7 separate regions of the Homo sapiens genome follow, and all the other regions are linked to region 2. The links are contacts of gene promoters, found by promoter capture Hi-C in blood cells and fetal thymus (Javierre and others, 2016). All regions are on one chromosome and are shown on one strand. Each heading gives the region's core, a stretch centred on a gene start or on the middle of the fragment in contact. The rest is flanking DNA. Distances are from core to core; before and after follow the strand shown. Region 1 holds the start of PIK3CA (phosphatidylinositol-4,5-bisphosphate 3-kinase catalytic subunit alpha). Region 2 holds the start of TBL1XR1 (TBL1X/Y related 1). Region 3 has its middle 23 kb from the start of LINC01014. Region 4 overlaps LOC105374235 (a long non-coding RNA gene). Region 5 holds the start of ZMAT3 (zinc finger matrin-type 3). Region 6 overlaps LOC105374235 (a long non-coding RNA gene). Region 7 overlaps LOC105374235 (a long non-coding RNA gene).

Evidence for each region. The method cuts DNA at HindIII sites, captures the fragments that hold promoters and counts their contacts. A CHiCAGO score of 5 or more calls a contact.
Region 1: the fragment with the promoter of PIK3CA here is called in contact with the fragment with the promoter of TBL1XR1 in region 2 in 7 of 17 cell types (fetal thymus, non-activated CD4 T cells, total CD4 T cells and 4 more); the score reaches 10.9 in fetal thymus.
Region 3: a contact is called between a fragment that was not itself captured here and the fragment with the promoter of TBL1XR1 in region 2, in 1 of 17 cell types (erythroblasts). The highest score is 5.3, in erythroblasts.
Region 4: a contact is called between a fragment that was not itself captured here and the fragment with the promoter of TBL1XR1 in region 2, in 1 of 17 cell types (endothelial precursors). The highest score is 6.2, in endothelial precursors.
Region 5: the fragment with the promoter of ZMAT3 here is called in contact with the fragment with the promoter of TBL1XR1 in region 2 in 1 of 17 cell types (fetal thymus); the score reaches 6.1 in fetal thymus.
Region 6: a contact is called between a fragment that was not itself captured here and the fragment with the promoter of TBL1XR1 in region 2, in 1 of 17 cell types (endothelial precursors). The highest score is 5.3, in endothelial precursors.
Region 7: a contact is called between a fragment that was not itself captured here and the fragment with the promoter of TBL1XR1 in region 2, in 2 of 17 cell types (endothelial precursors and megakaryocytes). The highest score is 6.4, in endothelial precursors.

What each region holds. Positions count from the first base shown.
Region 1 is chr3:179,147,076-179,149,775 of GRCh38, reverse strand. PIK3CA (phosphatidylinositol-4,5-bisphosphate 3-kinase catalytic subunit alpha) reads right to left here and starts at 1,419. Exons shown (of 21, transcript NM_006218.4): 1 at 1,173-1,419. PIK3CA-DT (PIK3CA divergent transcript) reads left to right here and starts at 1,803. Exons shown (of 3, transcript NR_125401.1): 1 at 1,803-1,860. RefSeq lists silencers at 795-844, 905-1,374 and enhancers at 556-1,055, 1,865-1,984, 2,595-2,700. The HindIII fragment of the contact is 3,906 bases long and covers 171-2,700 here.
Region 2 is chr3:177,196,197-177,198,896 of GRCh38, reverse strand. It overlaps TBL1XR1 (TBL1X/Y related 1), which reads left to right and starts at 1,415. Exons shown (of 16, transcript NM_024665.7): 1 at 1,415-1,776. RefSeq lists silencers at 824-1,203, 1,444-1,633, 1,744-1,843, 2,324-2,373 and enhancers at 821-1,328, 1,329-1,838. The HindIII fragment of the contact is 6,955 bases long and covers 1-2,700 here.
Region 3 is chr3:178,394,406-178,397,105 of GRCh38, reverse strand. No RefSeq gene overlaps it. Among named protein-coding and RNA genes, the nearest start is that of LINC01014, 23 kb to the left of the region's middle. The HindIII fragment of the contact is 2,720 bases long and covers 1-2,618 here.
Region 4 is chr3:178,352,760-178,355,459 of GRCh38, reverse strand. The region is part of intron 2 of LOC105374235 (a long non-coding RNA gene); the gene reads left to right. Among named protein-coding and RNA genes, the nearest start is that of LINC01014, 65 kb to the left of the region's middle. The HindIII fragment of the contact is 1,089 bases long and covers 784-1,872 here.
Region 5 is chr3:179,070,553-179,073,252 of GRCh38, reverse strand. It overlaps ZMAT3 (zinc finger matrin-type 3), which reads left to right and starts at 1,444. Exons shown (of 6, transcript NM_022470.4): 1 at 1,444-1,658. RefSeq lists silencers at 1,018-1,427, 1,568-1,717. The HindIII fragment of the contact is 9,531 bases long and covers 1-2,454 here.
Region 6 is chr3:178,336,498-178,339,197 of GRCh38, reverse strand. The region is part of intron 2 of LOC105374235 (a long non-coding RNA gene); the gene reads left to right. Among named protein-coding and RNA genes, the nearest start is that of LINC01014, 81 kb to the left of the region's middle. The HindIII fragment of the contact is 316 bases long and covers 1,278-1,593 here.
Region 7 is chr3:178,376,747-178,379,446 of GRCh38, reverse strand. The region is part of intron 1 of LOC105374235 (a long non-coding RNA gene); the gene reads left to right. Among named protein-coding and RNA genes, the nearest start is that of LINC01014, 41 kb to the left of the region's middle. The HindIII fragment of the contact is 3,496 bases long and covers 1-2,700 here.

The sequences.
Region 1 (2,700 bases), core at 170-2,669, 2.0 Mb before region 2:
TCAGTGGTTCAAAAGTCGCAGTAGAAATAATCCCCTGAGATAACCTGGAATTTACCTACCCAAGTATTCTAAGGGGTTCTCCCCGGCCACACAAACTATGATTCAAAACATCGTTCCGAAAACCCAGGTCCTGCATGTGCACAAAGGCGCAGTGCTGGAATGAGGAAGCTTCACCAAGATGAAATCACAACTCTAATTCATTAAAGAATATGCAGACTGTTTTCTAGAAAGACCCTCTTGTTGCGCTCCCTTTACCCTACCCTTTATTTAACCATGTAAACAGTCTCAATTATTGACATAAAAAAATAGCTTTCGATTCCCAAGTCTGGTAACACGGTTGGCCACCATCACTATTCCTTTAGCATCCTAAAATAAACCCCTCGAGCCGAGGTCAAAAACACGCCGGCTGAACGTCTGGTGTTTACATAGCCCAATCCCGGGCCCTACCCTACCTTTCCGAGCCACTTAAGAGCCATGGAACAGGCATCACATAATACACTTAGTAAAGAGACAAGTCACATGAGTCAGTGTCTCAGGTCTATGAATGAAAGATCTAAGCGTTTGTCTCAGCTAAAAGGAAAAAACAACCTCGAAAGGAAGGGTGGGAGGGGAGCTGGCGGGGGTGAGGGGAGCGGTGTTCCTTCCATACCCCTGCCGGGCGATTTAAACCCAGTAAGAGGCAAACGCAGGGCCGCCAGGCTGGCGGGGCCGGAGTCCTCGGGCGTGACAGCCCCTCAAGAAAAGCTCGCGGTTTCGCGCCCGCGTCCCTTGAGCCGCAGTCCTCGCGGCAGCCCCTCCACCCGCGGGCTGGGTGGGCGTGCAGGGCGCGGGAGACAGAGCCACCGCGGCCGGGGCGGCGGCCCTGGGCGCACTTCCTCAACCTCCAGCCGCCCCGTCCCCAAAACTGGGAGTAGAAGCAAAGGAAGAGCGAGGCGGCAGCCAGAGAGAAAGGAGAGGGAGCGGCGAGCCCTCGCCTCTGCAGCTAGGAGAGGCCAGAGGCAGGCGAGGGAGAGGGTGCGGCGATCGCAGGCGAACTCCGCCGCGGGCCGACGCTGGGAGACGACCAGCCCGTAGCCTCCGCCCAACACGGCGGGCGCGCCCGGGAGTCTCCGGCACCCACCCGGTCCCCATTCCCACCGCACCCGCTACCGGCCAGTCCGCGCTCTACTCACGCTCGGGGCTCTTCCAGGCTCCGCGGCTCTAACCGCATCGGGTCCCAGCCCCGCGGGCGGCGGCGGCGGCGCCGAGGGAGAGGAGAGCGGGCGGCACGGCCCCCGCCTCCCGGCCCCTCTCCCCCGCCGCTCCGGAGCTGCCCGGCCGGGCCCGAGCCCTGCCTCGCCGGCGGCCCCAGCCCCAGTCCCAGCGGCCGCGGCAGCAGCAGCCCGACACCTCAGCGGCCGCAGCGGCGGCACCGGAACTGCCGCTTTCTACTTCTCGCTCCCTCTCCTCGCTAGCCCCCGCCACACGCCCCCGCCCCCGACTCCTTTCTCCGTCGCCCCTGTTTTTTTTTCCTTTTGTTTCCAGAATAAACTTTATTGGTCTCTTTTTCCGCTCACATCGTGTAAACAAACAACGAACTCTTCCCCACCCCCTCGGCCCCCCCCCTCCTCCGGCAGAAGAGGGTAAGAGCTGAGGAGGGGCAGAGCCTACAATCCCCCGGAAGCAGATGCGCAAAGAAGCGGAAGCGAAATTGAGGCGAGGAGGAGCAGGGAGTGGGCAAATAGGGTAACAATATGTGCTACTGCGCCTGCGTCTTGCTTTTCCGCCCGAAGTTTATGTACAGTTGGGGCTGCTCTTCTGACGTTTGTTTAATGATCCGTCTTCTGCAGTAGTGAGGGTGTTGTGTCATCCTAGGACAGCGTACGTGTAGTATATTTGTTTCTACGAGCAGCAGGCGAGCTGGGGTAGAGATATAGAAAGGAATATTGGGAGCAAGTGGGTTATTTCACTTTTACACCCATAGAGGAAACGAGATTAGTTCGGGGGTGAGAGGAGGTGCGGTGGCTAACCGCCGCTGTCAGTGGCTAACCAGCGTGGTTATGGATTCTATAATAGAAAGAATGCTTTTTACAAAGCGTTGCTGTGCGTTCTTCTGCCGACATGGTTTAAGTTGTATACCATCCCGAAGGCGGAATGCACTGTCACAGCCCTCTGCAGTCCTTTGACTCACTTCGTGGAGACCTTTTGCTATGCCCTCATTTTTTTTTTTAAATCGAATTCTGATTCGAAGCAGCTTGTAGGATTCAATTCTAACTATTCAGAAGACGTGGGGGATTTTTCGCGTAATGCCAACAGAGACTTCAGAAATGTCATATAGGCTATAGATTTGATTCAAGGTAGTGTCTTGGTGCTGCGTACCTTAGAAGTCTGTTTGCTTGAGAGTAAATCAATCTGTTGACTTTTGAGATTACTACTGATAAGGGTTCGGTACTGTGCGTTTTTCTCCCCCTACTGGTCTTTTGTTGTAATATTGGAAAAGCGTAGGAGCAGTGATTAGAAGTCTGAGATACAAGTACTCCAGCATCGGTTCCTCCTTGAATTTTTAAGTAATAGAGGGCTTGGGAAGTGACCCATCCTAGAGATGTTACAGTCCTACTTGTCCTCTAGAGCAAAACTCTGACCAATAACAGTCTTCTCGAACACCGCACGTCCGTCCATACCCCAATGGTAAATGAGATGGATCTGTTCCTCTTTGTGGTC
Region 2 (2,700 bases), core at 166-2,665:
TGTGTGTGTGTGTGTGTGTGTGTGTGTGTGTCGCAAAACTTCAGGTTTCTGATATTGAGAGGAAATGATGGTTGCTTTAAAGTGATCACTACATCTATTTTCAAATATTCTGATGAAAGTAGGAAAACAGAACCCTTCACCTTTAAGAAAGCTGCAAACATTATTTTGCTTTGAAGGCAGTAATAAGCGAAATAACAAAAAGGTTTCAAGTCGTATCTTAATGTAAAAGGGTGGCTGCTTCTCCAGTCCTGAGCTTATACAAAGCTCTAAAAAGCACCCTACCCCATCTTTCTGAAAGTCTTAGAAAGATTACCACCCCATTTGCTTTAAAACCTGTGAGGTGCCTCCCTTCTTTAAAAACAACCCTCCCTCAACCATACTGCCACATTATCACTCATCTAAGTTATACTTTATAAACCGCCTTGCTGTGCTTCACACATGCAAAAAGTACACAAAGTGGATAAACTTCTACTGTGGATGCCACTGTGCAGGTATATATTTAGTAAACATTTAGTTACATTATTTTATTTTTGTGAAATAAGAACTGATCGAGCAAACCTTTCAAACAGACCCACCAGATGATAAATACCACCATATGCTTGATTCACAGTACATTTGGGCATAAATACTTCAATTACAGCTTTGTGTTTAGTATCAAAAACCTTTTCTTGTGTGCGTGTTTTCTCTCCAGATCCCGTGCTCTGGATCACATTTTGAAAGTCGCTTATTACAGATAAAGCACCTTTCCAGGTACGCTTCGGAGAACCATATGTATTTACGCACACAAAGGTGTTCACAGAGATTTTCACAAACAAATGTCCATATGATGCCGCGCCGCACTCCCCCACATGCCCGCCGCGTGTGCGCCCAGCCCCCAACGCCGCCGGGCCGCCCCCCGGACACGCGGGAGCCCGCGGCGTCCTTGGGGAAACTTCGCCGGCGGCTCCACCCCGGCCACCGCGCGGGCCTCCCCGCCCCCACCCGTCTCGGGCCCAGCGGCCCACACCCGAGCACACCCAGGCCGGCCCGCGGCGGTGGGGGCGGGGCGGGCGGCCCGGGGCCCCGAGGCGCCTTCGAGTGCCCGCGGGGCTCGCCTGATTTTTAAAAGAATGCGCCGCACAGCCCAGCCCCCAGTGCCGCCAGAGCGGGCCGGGAAGGAGAGGAGCGCGGCCGCTGGAGCCCCCCCGCCGCGCCGCCGCCGCCTCCCGGCGTCCGCGGCGCCCCTCCCCCGCCGGCCCCTCCCCCGCGCGCCCGCCCGCCCGCTCGCCCGCCCGCCCGGCGCAGGCCGCTCGGGTTTGTTTTGCTGCGCGGCCGCCGCCGCCGCCGCCGCCGCGGGCCTCGCGAGCTCATTTGTGCCTGGCTGGTCCCCATTCCTCTCTCCCCAGTGTTGAGTGTCTGAGCCGTTGGCTGCTCCGAACCGTTTGGCTCTTTCCCTTAGTAACAGCTTTTACCTTCTGCCTCAATTCCTCTCCCCGCTCGCGCCCTTCCCCCGCGCGCCGCCTCCCCCCGCCGCCGGCCGCGTGCGCCCCCGCCCCTCCCCCCGCGGCGGGAGCACCTCCGCTCGCCACCTGGGGACCCGCGCCGCGCTCCCCGCCCCCGCCCGCCCGGCGCCCATCCCCCGCGCCCTCCGCTCGCTGGGGTTATAATTGCCTCTCACCCCCCGGAGGGGTTATTTTGGGGGTGGTTGGAGGCGGTGGCGGCGGCGGCGAGGAGGGGAATTTCCTTGTGCCTCCATTCCCGGGAGGGGGGAGCGGCGTTGGAGGCCACCGTTTCCAGGTAAGCGCTGGGGGCCGGACCCTGGAGTGGGGGCGGCCGGGGGCCTGGGCGGGGGGCGCGGGCCAGAGGCGGCCGGGGGCGCTGGGCCGCGGGGGGATGGGCGCGAGTGGAACATGCATTTTTCAACTTGGCCCTTGGGGGAACTGGGCTTGCGTGGGGGAAGGGAAGGCAGGGAGGGCACTTGGGGCGCCCCCATCCCCCCGTTTTCCTCTCTCAGGTTTCTTTGAAATGCTCACGTGCCTGCCCACCCCCCTACCCTTTCCCGGTCTCGGGGGATCCTCACCCTAATTATGTTGTCCCCGAAAATGTGCACCTCGGCCTTCTCCCCCTCTTCCTCCCTTCGTGCATTTACACCCCCTTTTTGTGCGTGTGTGTTTGGGGGGGGAGGCTTTCAGGAAAGGATTTGCAGCAAATTGAATCAAGGAGCCATCATGAGGCCGACTCCTTTATAGCCTATTTTTAGCAGAGGAGAAGGAGCTTTTCGGTGCATGCTATTTTGTGAAACCTCGGGCGGCAATGGAAATCTCCCCTCCCCGGGCGCGTCCCCGGCCCGGGCGCGGCGACCCCGGCCGGCGTGCTGGGGGCTGCGGGCGGCTGTTGGGGCCGCGCGTCCGGGGCGGGGGCGCCGGCCGGGGGAGGGGCGCGCGGCAGCCGGGCCTTGCTCCGGGACGTGTTTATTTGTAACTTAGTGCTTTTTATCGTCTTAAGGAGGTATTTGGTGGAGGCTCTTTGAAGTTGGGTTCAGGAGTGTAGAATTGGCAAAGTTATTGCCAGCTTCCTGGTAAGTTTTGGGTGGCACAGAGTCACGTTATTTTCTGACAGTGTAAAGGCCACGTTGTGAGGGTGGTTTCTCGGTAACTTCCTCTTTGCAACCGATTTAATTTTTTGAACAGAAGCAGACTTTTATTTAAGTGGAATATTAAT
Region 3 (2,700 bases), core at 9-2,508, 1.2 Mb before region 2:
ATTTTAAAAACTCTAACTATATGCAATTACATCGATGGTTCTTAAAATATAATGCTGAACCAAAAAAGCAGAGATAGAAGAATACATAGTTTATGATTCCATTTATATAAATTTTAAAATGGGATAAAATATGTTTTGCAACACTAAGATTCTAGATGGTCACTGCTTTTGAGGGCAGATGGTAGGAGGTGGTCACAGATGAGCTTCTGGAGTGTTGGTGATTTTTAAATTTCTTGATCTGGAAGCTGGTCAAATGCGTATGTTTACTTCATGACAACACATTAAGCTGTATACCTGGAATTTTTGTACTTACTATATTTATGTTTTATTCCAATATTTTAAAAATTTACATACAATATGCGCTATTAAATTTGGAGACCACAGACAATATTCATGAAAAATGAGATTAAAAAGAAACACATCTCTATGTGGGCAGATAATAGTAAAACTTCTCAAACAAGGTGAAAAAAATATTCTGCCATCAGCCAAGATGAGGAAACTGTGACTGGATTTACCCTTCTGCCTAAAACAGCTAAAATCCCAGAAAAAATCTCTGAAACAGAAATTTTTTAGACATTGGACCTTAGGCCGCATGGGACAGTTATACCTGGGAGAGGAAAAGCAAATAAAGTGAACATTATGATTGCACCAGGTAACTGTCTAGAGAGTTTCCATGCTGCAGCATGAAGAGAAGATACCAGGCAAAGCCTGGAAGTCCCTGAGTTGAGGAGACAGAGTTGGGTGTCCTCAGAAACCACGATATAAAGTATATAAAGAATATCCAAAATAAATGTCCAAAGATAAAAATTACAATGTTTAATATAAAAAATACATTGGATGAGATTAATAGCATATTAGACAATGCAGAAGAAAGATTAATGATTCATGTGTAAATAGAAACTATAATAAACAGTATTAAAAGATTGAAAAAATATGAGTATTACATTAGTGAGATAGGGGACAACTTTAATTGGCCAAATATCCATCTAATTGGAGTTCCCAAAACAGAAGAGAGAAAAAATAGTGTAAAAATACTGATAGCCCAGTCCATGCTCTAGAATAATTGAATCAGAATACCTGTGGGTGGCATCTGGAGATCAAGAGTTGGACAGGAATGGTATATGCGTGCTGAGAACAGGATAAATCAATGGCCTAGCCTGGTGAAAGTGGCTTTCCAAACCAGGATATATGTTATTGACCAAAATGGAAGTGGAATCTGACATAGTGGGTTTTTGGAAGGAGCAGAACCTGTGACATGAAGGAGAAAGCCAAAGCTACGGGAATTTACATAAGGGCGGTCTTTTGTGAGACTTGGCAAGGAGACAGCAAAACATTGATCTGATTGGTGGTTAAGAAGGTGATTATTTCAGAGAACCTGTAATAAGATCATAGGATCCTATTATAAGATAATTTCTGCTCCTCACTGCTCTGAGTTGATAGATTTTCAGGACCCAGTCTTGCCATTTCCAAGTAATGTAATTATATTTTGTGAGCAAGAGATATGATCCTCAAAAGATATCTTGGTGGCTGGAGCAACATCCCAAATGGAATCAGCTGAAAATTTCCAAGATTCAAGATTGCACAAAATTAATATTAACCCACTCTTAAAAGAATGTGTATTTCAAGAGGGGAAGTGAGGGAGAAAAGACACACACAGTGAGGGAGAAAAGACATATACAGATTAGCTTTTAGTTTCAGACTCTGCTATTATTTTATCTCTAATCTTGTCTCCCAAAAATGGATTGTAAATATTTTGTAAATACCATGAAATTAGGAATATATCTTATCCTTAAGTTTTTACCACTAGCATAGCATTAGGTGTTTAATTAATATTTGTTTAGTAATTTGATAGGCAAAAATGTATTCGTTGTGTATGTCAAACCGATGAATTGAATGCTCCCTGAGATTTTGTTACAGCTCTTAATCTATGGGAGTTGTTATCTTGGGCTAGCTAATGGCAACTCTGCTTTATAAACACATACACGTTTTGATGTAAACTTTTAATTGAAATATATCTACAAAAAGCACAGAGATCAATAGTGTATGGCAGAATAAACTTTTACAAAGTGAACAAACTTATGTGATCAGCACCAGGATTAAAAACAGAACATCACCTGGATCCCAGAAGGTCTCTTCTGTCTCCTTACATTTGGTAACTTTCTAAGAGTAACCACTATCTTGAATTGTGACACCATAGATTAATTTTGCAATCTTTTGAGCCTGGCTTCTTTTGCTGTATATTTGTGACTTATATCTGTATTTTTGTGTATAGTTACAGTTCATTCTCACTGCTAAATAGTACTTATTGTCTAAATATGCCACTATTTATTTATTCAGTCTACTGTTGTTAGATATTTGAGTAGCTTCCTATATGGGGATATTATAAATAGTGCTGCTATGAAAATTCTTGGACATGTCTTTTGGGGAATATGCTTATGCATTTTGTTAAGTTTGTATCTAAAAGTAGAATAGCTGGGTCAAAGATATGCACAGCTTAGCTTTAGTAGATACTGCCAAGCATTTCTTCAATTTATACTCCCACCAGCAATATATAAGAGTTCCAGCTGCTCTACATTGTTACCAACATTTGGAATTGTTAATTTTTTTTAATTTAAGCTTTTTTTGGTGTGTAGTAGTACTGCTTTGTGATTTAAATTCTCATTTTTCTGATTCTTAATGAAACTGAGCTCCTTTCCTTAT
Region 4 (2,700 bases), core at 79-2,578, 1.2 Mb before region 2:
ACTGTTATCCTAGAATCATTCTTAATGAAGTTATCATTTGTTTCTTCCCTGAATACATCATGTTCTGACACTCGCTTATGCTCCTACCACACTGAATTTCTTATCATACTCTGAATTCAGGCCCTGTTATACTTCTCCCTTTGTCTTTGCACATATTCATCCCCCATCATACTTTTCCCTGTTTTCCTAGCTGAAACAAGATGTGAATTTGGTCCTTGAACAGTCAATGCACTTGCATTTCATTAGTGCTACATGACAGATTTTTTACATTCTTTTTGGTGGGTACGCTTCTTTATCCCTCAATTCTATCTTTGTCGTTATTGACATTGGACAACTCTCTGGCCTTTTTGTTTTGTTTTGTTTTGTTTTTGAAAGCATAGTCTTTTTCTAAGCCCCGTTATACGTCCTTGTTTTTATGTCTCAATGGCCCTTTCCCTCTGAAGCTAACCATTCTTGTCATAATCTTCGTACTGATCCCATATTCCCCTCTGAAGGACATTATGCTCATACTTATCTTCCTCTGTTTAGAAGCACCAATTTTTATTTTGCTTTTTCTTGCTCTCAATGTTTATATATTAAAAATCTAATTCTTTTCATCTAAATAAATACAGACTTTTCACAGATTTTATTGTACTTTGTAGCGTTGATATACTTTGTATCATTCTTTTTTAGCAACACAAATCCATTTTGACCACCCATTCCTCTTGCTTCTGCCTCTACCATTGAATTAAGCCCAGTATTTACAATGTTGTTATGATGTTCTTACAGTCAGATTTAAAAGCTTCTCCTTAGTCCTCTTACTTTTTGACATCTCAGTGCTATTCTGATTCTGTTGGCAATTTCAACTGCTTTCCAAACTTTTCCTTCCTCTTACTCTCACTGATATAGATGATTCCAATTTCTCTTTTTGGTTCATCTCTTTGTGGTTTATCTTCCCTCCATCACCAGGTCTCCTTTCTTCTTCCGTCTCTCAACCGTGAGAAATATCCAAACTTTATTTCTTGACCCTCTATTCTCAAACTTTATTTTGTAGAAGCTGCTATCCTCTATTTCTGTCTTAAATCTTCATCTATAAATCAATTGTTCCCAAATCCTAATCCTTTGCCAAATCTTTCCATCAGGCTACAGCCTTTTAGTTCAAACTACCTACAAGAAAACTTTTCTTGAAATTTCCTAAAAAGTACAAATTTAGTGTGACTATAGCCAAACTTCTCATTTTTATCCTTAAAAATGTCCCTTTTGTCCTCATCCTCCTTTTAAGTTGGGCCACTAGTACTCCTCAAAGTTCAAATGCTTGTAATTCATGACAAAGCCCAGTATATTTTCTTATAGGTTTCCCTGTCTGTTTTTATTGCCTTCTTCAATTTTCCTTCCCACAGGAAGACTTCACAACTCTTGTGTGAATATAGTTGCCTCCTAGCTATATTTTTTCTTTTATATCTTCCAGTTTTCCAAAACTATATCTTACCTTTCTCTCATTTTTTAAAAAATATTACCTTTCTCTAACTGTGCTTGCATTTAGTAACCCTATTATACAATTGGGCCCTTCTATTATAAATAGGCTATTCAGAAATCAGTTTACTAAATCAAAATAACAGTATCAGTAATCATACTCTACTGCCTCCTACAACTGACAGTATTTTTACTGCCTTTTAAAACTTGCTATATGTAAGAAAGTTAATAATGTTTATTACACATCTCAGAAAAATAAGCACAAACATAGCTAGCAGGCAGGCCATTATGTAAACAGAGGGATGAAAATGTTAATATACAACTGAATAGATGTCTGTTGGTGATGGACACAATCTCCCTGGCACTTAGCTTTGTTCCTCTCTATGGAAGTTTATGGGGAGAGGGTTTGTGAAAAAAGCTTTGATACTGTCTTATTCTCTTATGGTATTGTATGGTTTAGCATTCATGTGGTTTCCTAGTATTTTATAAATTGTATTCTTTTAATTGCCTCCATATGAATAGAAGCTATGATGCCTGTCATCTTGGCTAGCATATCTAGTTTCACTGTAAGAGTAAAGCCAAAAAAAAAAAAAAGAGTAAAGCCAAAACCAAAACAAAACAACTATAATTTATTGACTAAATTTTATTAGAGGCATTTTATATACTAATTTTATATTAAAATTTAGACTAATATAGGCAATTTGAAGGTAGAAATTTAAGGCAAGTAAAGTGATAATTTGGTAAGGGTATTCTACATCATTAGATAATTAGAAACATGTACTTAGTTTTTTTTTCTCTTTTAAATTTGAAGCCTTTGGCAAGAATTCAAGTTATACAGTTTTTTTTATGAAGCCCAAGTAGTCTTCAGTCTAAATGATCTTAGATCTAAATGTGTTTACACGTGATTTTTAAAACTTAATGACTATATAATCAACTAAAAATTTAGCAAATTCTGAAAAAATTTTATACAACCCATCTGTTAATATTTAAATATTCTCTTTTAATCTTTTTAAAAATGTGTATGTGTTTTGCATGCCAGTAATCATAGTGTTTATGCTTTTTTCCTGTGGAATTTAAAAGACAACACTTTATCACAACTATTTCCCCTGCATATGCTGCATAGCTTCCATGCTTCTGTGATTTTTTTTTTAACAACAGGGTCTAAGGAGGGAGCAGGGTAAAGTCTAATGACGCACAGCCAAAGAATTTCCTTGCCTTGATAATAGGCCAGCTGCCCATTAACTTAAC
Region 5 (2,700 bases), core at 195-2,694, 1.9 Mb before region 2:
GTGACACATAAAGTAAATGTACCTATACAGCTGGAAAAACAATTCAGGTGATGGATTACTCTCCCCAAATGGCTGGTGTACACTGTGTGTATATGTTTGTACTTCATATTCATTGTACTTATGAAGTCTTTTATGGTTTGTTGTTGTTGGTATTGGATTGGTGCATTTTTCAGCCAAAGAAACAGCCTTGATTTCCTGCAGTTGTTTCCCTACTAATAGGGCACATCTTACTATACTTAGATCTCCTTGGCATTTTAATTCGTGTTTTAAAAAATAACCACACAATAATGCAAATGTACTTAATGCCACTGAACTGTACTTTTTTTTTTTTTTTTTTTGAGACGGAGTCTCGCTCTGTCACCCAGGCTGGAGTGCAGCGGCGCGATCTCGGCTCACTGCAAGCTCCGCCTCCCGGGTTCACGCCATTCTCCTGCCTCAGCCTCCCGAGTAGCTGGGACTACAGGCGCCCACCACCACGCCTGGCTAATATTTTTGTATTTTTAGTAGAGATTGGGTTTCACCGTGTTAGCCAGGATGGTCTCGATCTCCTGACCCCGTGATCCACCCGCCTCGGCCTCCCAAAGTGTTGGGATTACAGGCGTGAGCCACCGCGCCCGGCCTGTACTCTTAAAGTAGTATATTTGTTATCGTTTGCCACACACAAAAATAATACCCCAGCAGATCTTCATACGAGTTAATTTACGCTATAAGTTTAGAGCCGGAATTTCCTCAGCTCATCACTCAGTGTTAACATTGAAGATGTCCAGGTTGGTTATGAAGGATGTGACATCCTAGCGTTGGCCACTCTTTTCCTGGTCCTTCCTGTCTTGCAGGTGAGCCTCTGGGGGTCAGGAGAAAGTCTCCTCTATCTCCTGCTCACTTTCGTGTAGGGGAGGGAAGGTGTGTGTGTGGGTGGGTGGGGGCGTTTTGTGTGAGGGAGGCCGATACTGGGCAGGCAGCCACGCTCTTCTTCCTCCATCCTGGGGCGGAAGTGGGGAGAGCAGCAGTTTAAAGGTTCTGTTGCAGCAGTTTAAAGGATCCACTCAGCCGCCTTAACCGCCAACCAGCAGGCTAAGGGAGGAACAGAATGAACAATGTTTGGATCCCAATGACTGGAGATGAAAGTTGCAAAAGCTCTGCCCAGGCTTCTACCAAGGATTAACTTTCCAGGGCATCTGCTGAACTGCTCTTCGGGGCTGTCTGCTGAGATTGGCGGCGGGACCCTCCCGCCTCTCACTCGTGCCTTTGTTCCCCACGCCGGCCTAACCCCGCGCCCCTGCGCTCGCGGCCAGGGCACCTGACCCACGCGCCGCCCGCCGGGGATGCGGGAGCCGCCACTGCTACCGCTGCCACCGCTGCCGGGCCTGCTCCGCCAAGCACATGCGCAGTGGCGACGCCGAGCCGGCGCCCTCAGTCTCCTCCTCCACCGCCTCCCGGTTCCGCAGTCACTTCCTGCAGCTGTTTCCCTGTGGGTCGGGTTGGACTGACTTTTGACAGTCAGCCTTCGGCTGCGGAGGGGGCTCGGCGGCGGCCGGCGGAGAAAGTTGCTCCGAGAAGAGGCTGGGTCGAGCTGGGCCGAGCCGGGCGCGCAGGGCGGGCGTCGCGGGCGTCCCGGGCGGACGCGGCGCGGAGACTGCCGGCGCGTCCCGGGGGTTCCGGTAAGTGCGGGCGATTGGGAGCCGCGGAGCTTTCAGGACGAGCCCCTGGAGCGCCGGGGACTAGCGGTTCCTTTCCGATGCTCTTTCCATCTGCCCTCCACGTGACAGGGCTTGCGCTGCTTCTATTTATCAGTTTGCTTGTTTCAGGCATTTCACGTGGACCAGGTGGATCATCTGTGCGTGCAGCTGCCTTGGCCCTCTCAGTTGCCCCCGCCCCGTGGGAGTCGGGGGATTCCATCCTTCGTGATGGCATCCATACCGGGTTGAGGTGCGTGTGTGGGTTCGTGTGTATGCATGCACATCTTAGGAATGTAAGGTGGATGTGGGCGACGCTGAACTGTCTGTAGCTTTGATTCAAATCTGTAAACAGTTCTCTAGGATTAGGAACCGTCACAGCGGAGACTGAAAAACATTCGCCAATTCACCAAGGCCTCTTCCCCAGTTTTCTGCGTTCTTTTGAGCCTTCTTTATAGGATACACCTTGCCTCAAGTGATTATTATTATTATTTTTTTTAACTTTTCTCCCTCTCATTCCTTCTTGCTGCGTTCTGATGACCTCTGAGTAATGCTCGCTGCCTTTCCCTCATTTCCAGAATTCCCAATTACAGACTTACCTAGTTTGCTGAGGTGCTCCTAACCTGTTCCTTTATTCTATTCTCTTTCCTCTGTAGATTTCTCCAAATGAGACAAGAGATTGTCTTTAACACAGTATGTGAAGAGTAGGCCCCAGTCCAATCATTAAAACTAAGTATGCTATGACAATTAATTTTCTTTAAACAGGGTACCTTGTGAAGCTTTGATTTTCTTTAATGTCGTCTTAGCTCCTTTCCAAACCAGGACATTAACCAGCATAAATCCTTCATTTATGCCATCGCAAGCATCAAAGTGACTGGTTTTTAAGATTTGAAGAATATTTATGCCAGTCTTCAAATTAGTCCCTTTTAAACCAATGCAACAGTTGAACAGATCTGAGTTGCATGTTTTGGGTCTCTGTATTCCATCATTCATGCATTCACTGAAGACTTGGTTTTATTCATTTTAA
Region 6 (2,700 bases), core at 186-2,685, 1.1 Mb before region 2:
AATAACCCAAACTGCTAGCAAATATAATGATTTGTGCAGAATGATATTTATTGTGAAAGAGGGATACAGTAGGGTAAGTCATGATATGTCTAAATAAAGAATACTCTGTAGTGTGTATAAATAATGCTTTGAAAAAAATCCTTTCTTATAAAAACAGTAAATTATGCTAATTTAAAAATTTTGATAAAGTGCATAGATTTGATTATTTTGACTATCGCAGGTGGTATTTGATTATTTCCCTAACTTGCTGTAATTACCCCATCAAATAATATTATTATAGTTAAATAATAGTTGTCTTCTTATAGTATAAATTTTTAAAAAAATGTTTAACTTTACATTTCTGCTTCCTATAATGGCAGATTGGGTAACTTGGTCCAACTATCCCCTAGAAGTCAATTGAAAATCTTGTCGATATATAAAAAATTTTGCTTGAAAGTAATAGGGAGATAGCATAATAGTGAGGAATTATCAGTCTGGGATGTGTGGAAAGGTTGAAAATCAGAGGAATTTGAGTTATATTTCACCTGGGAGTAAGTAAAAAAATCTATGAGGGAGCTGAAAGAATAAAAGGATGGATGGCTCATTTGATAGCCTCAAGGCTAGAGTAAAAACCTCTGGGTACAAGGCACACCAGTAAAAGTCCTGATGCATCTTCCTTACACTGAGATGGAACTCTAAAAAGCCTCACTAGAGAGTAACTGTGATACAGAAGAAGATGGCTTCTGCAGGGACTGCAGTTCAGCTTTGTGGGCATCTCAGCTTTGAGTAATCCCAGATGGCTAGGTACTCTGAATATAAAAATTTAAATACTTTCGGGAAAAACAAAATGTTTCTATTACTCAAACTATCTACAAAGTTTTGAAAATACTAGCACACATGACATAAGTATGGAAACAATAAACATTACAGACTACTAGAGGATGGAGGGAGAGGGGCTGGGTTACAAAAAATACCCATTGAGTACTATACTTAGTACCAGGATGACAGGATCCATACTCCAAATCTCAGCATCAGGCAATATTCCCATGTAACAAATATGTACATGTACCCCTGTATCTAAAATTAAGGCTGACATTTTAAAAATGAAAATACAATATTTAAAACATGAAATCAAAATGCTAGTTATATAAGTTGTAAAAATAACATGACTGGAAAGTAATATCAATAATGATAATAACAGAAACAGAACCACTGGGGGAAGTTGTCAATTCCAGGTTTTAAAATAAGTATGCTCACTAAATTAAGAAGTTAAGGGCAGGAATAAAATAATTTAAGCTTGAAACTGGGAAGAACCACATTGAAATTCTGTAATTGAGAAACTTAAACACCAAAGTGAAAAACTCAAATAGTGGAATTAACGGCAGACAAGAGAGAATTTGTGAACTAGATTACAGATTAGAAATAAATTTCGAATACCAAAACAAATTATATATAAGTCTAGAAAATATAAAGAGAAAAAAAGAGAGACAGTGTATAGGTCTGCTTATATATAATCTAATCCCAAAATAAAAAGGAAGAGAGGATAGGACAGAAATGATATTAGAGAATGTAATGATAAATAATTTGTTTTTAATTGAGGAAAAGCATCAAGCTTAGAAGCCTACAAATCCTACAAATCCCAAGTAGAAACATTTAAAAGAAAGTCACATGCAGGCTTATGATCATAGCAGTATTGAAGCTAAATTTGAAGAAAAAATATTAATATAGATTATATGAATAAATTATTTTCAGGGAACAACAATTAGAATGAAAGCCAAATTTTCAACAGAAATAATAAAGACAGGAAGGAAAATAAATGGTATTGTCAAAATGGGGAAATGAAATAATTGCAAACCTGTAACTATAATTTATTGAAAATATTCTTGAAGAGTGAGAGTAAAATAAAGACACTTTCTGACAAACAAAATGAGAAAATTTTTCAGTGTACCATCACTGAAGAAAATGCTAATAATTTTTTTTCAGGCAGAAGAAAATAAGCTAAGATAGAGCTCAGAAATATAGAAAGAAGTGTAGTGAATCAAGAAAAGTACATAGAAAAGTAAAGGTGAACTAATATTGAAAGTATAAAACAATAAGAAAGATGTATTGTGGAGCTGAATTAATATTGAAAGCATAACACAATAAGAATGATGTAATGTGGAGTTTAAAACATCAAGATAATTAAAATGTAAGACTTAGCAGCGTATGCTTTTGGAAGTGGATAACTGGAGTTAAATGATTCTCAGGCCCTTCCTTCAAGAGGAAGGGAAACAAAGAAATTAATGAGAATTTGGCCTTCTGGCTTGGAAGAGTGGGTGCCTAAAAGGCCAATTTCTTCTATAAATAACAGCTATAAAATTTGAAAAACAAATCTGCAACAATAGAATCTAACAGAGGACTCTAGGGGTTGAACAGTGGTGGTAGATTTGGGATTGGAGTAGAAACTTGTAGCAAGTGACTGGCATAAAATGAGTTCCCTGGATTTTGTGACTTTTCTCTGACAGTGGCCATAGGCATTGCCTTGAAAGCAAAAACAAATGCAAATCTGTGATAGAGAACCCGGTCCTTCTGGCCATCAAGGGAGATCAAACAGCCAAGGCTACCAGAGAATAAAGGAAGGTACTCAGAAAGCTGAGGCACAGAGAAGGTGAACCCCAAGTCTCCTGGTTTAACTCAGCCTGTCACTGGCTGACTCTTGAACCTGTTGTTTATGACACAAAC
Region 7 (2,700 bases), core at 2-2,501, 1.2 Mb before region 2:
GTGTGTGGCAGCTCTACGTATCTCACAAAGGAAGATTTCATGTGGAAAGTTCCTGCAATGTCCCAGTGCACAGACACCGGTCTTTTCTAATGTGCTGGTTCAAAAGTAGTGTGCCCTTTTTTTTTTTTTTTTTTTTTTGAAACAGTCTCCCTCTGTTGCCCAGGCTGGAGTGCAGTGGCGCGATCTCGGCTCACTGCAAGCTCCGCCTCCCGGGTTCACGCCATTCTCCTGCCTCAGCCTCCAGAGTAGCTGGGACTACAGGCGCCCACCACCACGCCCGGCTAATTTTGTTTTTGTATTTTTAGTAGAGACGGGGTTTCACCGTGTTAGCCAGGATGGTCTCGAACTCTTGACCTCAGGTGATCCGCCCATCTCGGCCTCCCAAAGTGCTGGGATTACAGGCGTGAGCCACCGCGCCCGGCCGCGTGCCTCTTCGTTTAATGACCTGGCAGCTTGTTTCTCAGCTGCAGATTTCTTTTGTTAGTGTTTCTGCCATTGCCAGAGGCATTTCTGTTGAACCTGGCATCTGTTAGTAAACTTTCTCCAAAACAAAGCTAATTTAGGTTTTGTAGTATATGAAGCCCTTCTAGCTCTTTCCACTTTTGATTTTATTTCATCCCTAAATTGCCATCGTATTGAGGTCATTTTTAACTATTTTTTTCCCAATGATTTATTTTTCCTAGTGTATTTTTTTTTTCTCTTGGAATTTGACCTAGGGCATGTGTGCATGAGTTTTACTCGGGACACTTTCTATTAATACCCCATAACTTTTCCAATTGTGTTCTGCCCTCTTCCCATCCTCCCACTTCAACTTCTTGGTCTAAGTTGAATATGAACTTTCCTTTGCCTGTCTCTGAGATTTGGATCTCTACCTTACACTCTCTCATCACTACCATAGTAGTATATTGTGAGCTATTCTGAGTGGGATGGAAGCCCTTTCTAGGAAGTGAAAAAGAATTATCCTCAATACATAGGAACATCTCAGAAACAAGTGAGTGTCCTCAAAATTTCCATACAAAAAAATGTAGGTGTGATTATCTGGTTGAAAGAATGGAAGGAAGAGTGTGGGTATGAGGGGTTGTGTTGAAACTGTTCGTATATAAAGCAAACTTTCTACTAAGCATATATCTTTATTGAAGGGAGGAGGTGATAAAGATTATTGTGGCAATGAAAGCCACCTTCATTAACTCTTCGATCCGGCACTCCTGTGCTTTCGTTCCGGATATTAAGTGACCTGACAGAGATCCCTCCTGAGTGCTTGGCATCTCCTTTCCATTTCGATTTGTTCTGCAGAAACTCCCTTGTTTTATGACAAGATTGGGATGACACAGGTAGCTCAACAGTGGGAGTGAGAACTCGGCAAGGAACAAGAGTCATGCCTACTTCCCCAATTCCTGCAGTCCAGCTTCCTTCTTTCTTCTTCTTTCTGGGATACTCCTGACATGTAGCAGGGTAAAAAGGAAGTCACATTAATTTAAGAGTTATCGGATAATGGATAAAAAAAATTAGAAAGAATGAATAAAACCTAGTATTTGCTAGCACAAAAGGGGGACTGTAGTCAAAAATAATTTAAGTGTTCATTTTGAAATAACTAAGAGTATGATTGAATCATTTGTAACACAAAGGATAAATGCTTGAGGTGATGAATACCCTATTTACCCTGATGTGATTATTACACACTGCATGCTTGTATCAAAATATCTCTTGTATCCCATAAATATATACAACTACTATGTTTCTGCAAAAATTAGAAAAAAATTAAAAAGGAAAAAAAACGAATTGACACTTATGTTGGGATTCTGGGTATGGCATCTAGGAGTATGAGGTCTGAGACAAGTAACTGAACATCTTTGAGACTCAGATATTTTTATCTGGGAAACAGGAATAATAAAATTACCTTTTAATTTAATTGGTTAATGGGAGGGTTGAAACAGATACTGTATGTTGAAGTTATGTTTGTATTAGAAAATGTTGAACAAATGCTATTCATCCTCCATCCCTAAGGAAACAATGAAAATGATGTAACAATATAAGAAATATAAAGAGCGTTATCTTCTTTCTAGTTGAATTTAATTCATTTCCATTCAATATGTTCTTAAATTGGGTTGCCATAGCTAATGGAAACCTGGTGAATGGAGAGGGAAATCTAGGATTATTGATGGTAGTTCTTTTGCATTAACTTGGTGTACAGGTACATAGGACTGTACTTGTACTGTGGTCATAATTTAATACAAATATTTCATAACAATACAAATATCAGTTTGTAAGAAAACTGTTTTTAGAAAGTAAATCTGTGATATGATAGAGTTTTGTGTGATGTGTCTGTATTTAAGCACATGTACCCATTCAAGCAGCAATCATCTCTTCCTTTTTACCAAAATAGGGTGTGTGTTTCCTTGTTCTTCTCTATGTGAAAGACTTCTGACCGACTACTTCACAGGCATGCAGGCACGTAATGATACATGAGTACACACAGTGGTGCAAAAGGCTGTGTTTAGGCATGCAAATACTCTTAAAAAAGTGCAGAACATTAGCAACATGACCTTTCCTTACATCTGAATATCTAATTTTGAGACCTAGCTCCACTATTAATGTGCTGTATGCCCTGATAAATCACCACCCTGAGTTTGCTTTCTCAGCTGTAAAATAAGAGATTTTAATTCTTAAAATTTCCAACTTGTAGGGTTTGGGACAGATTTC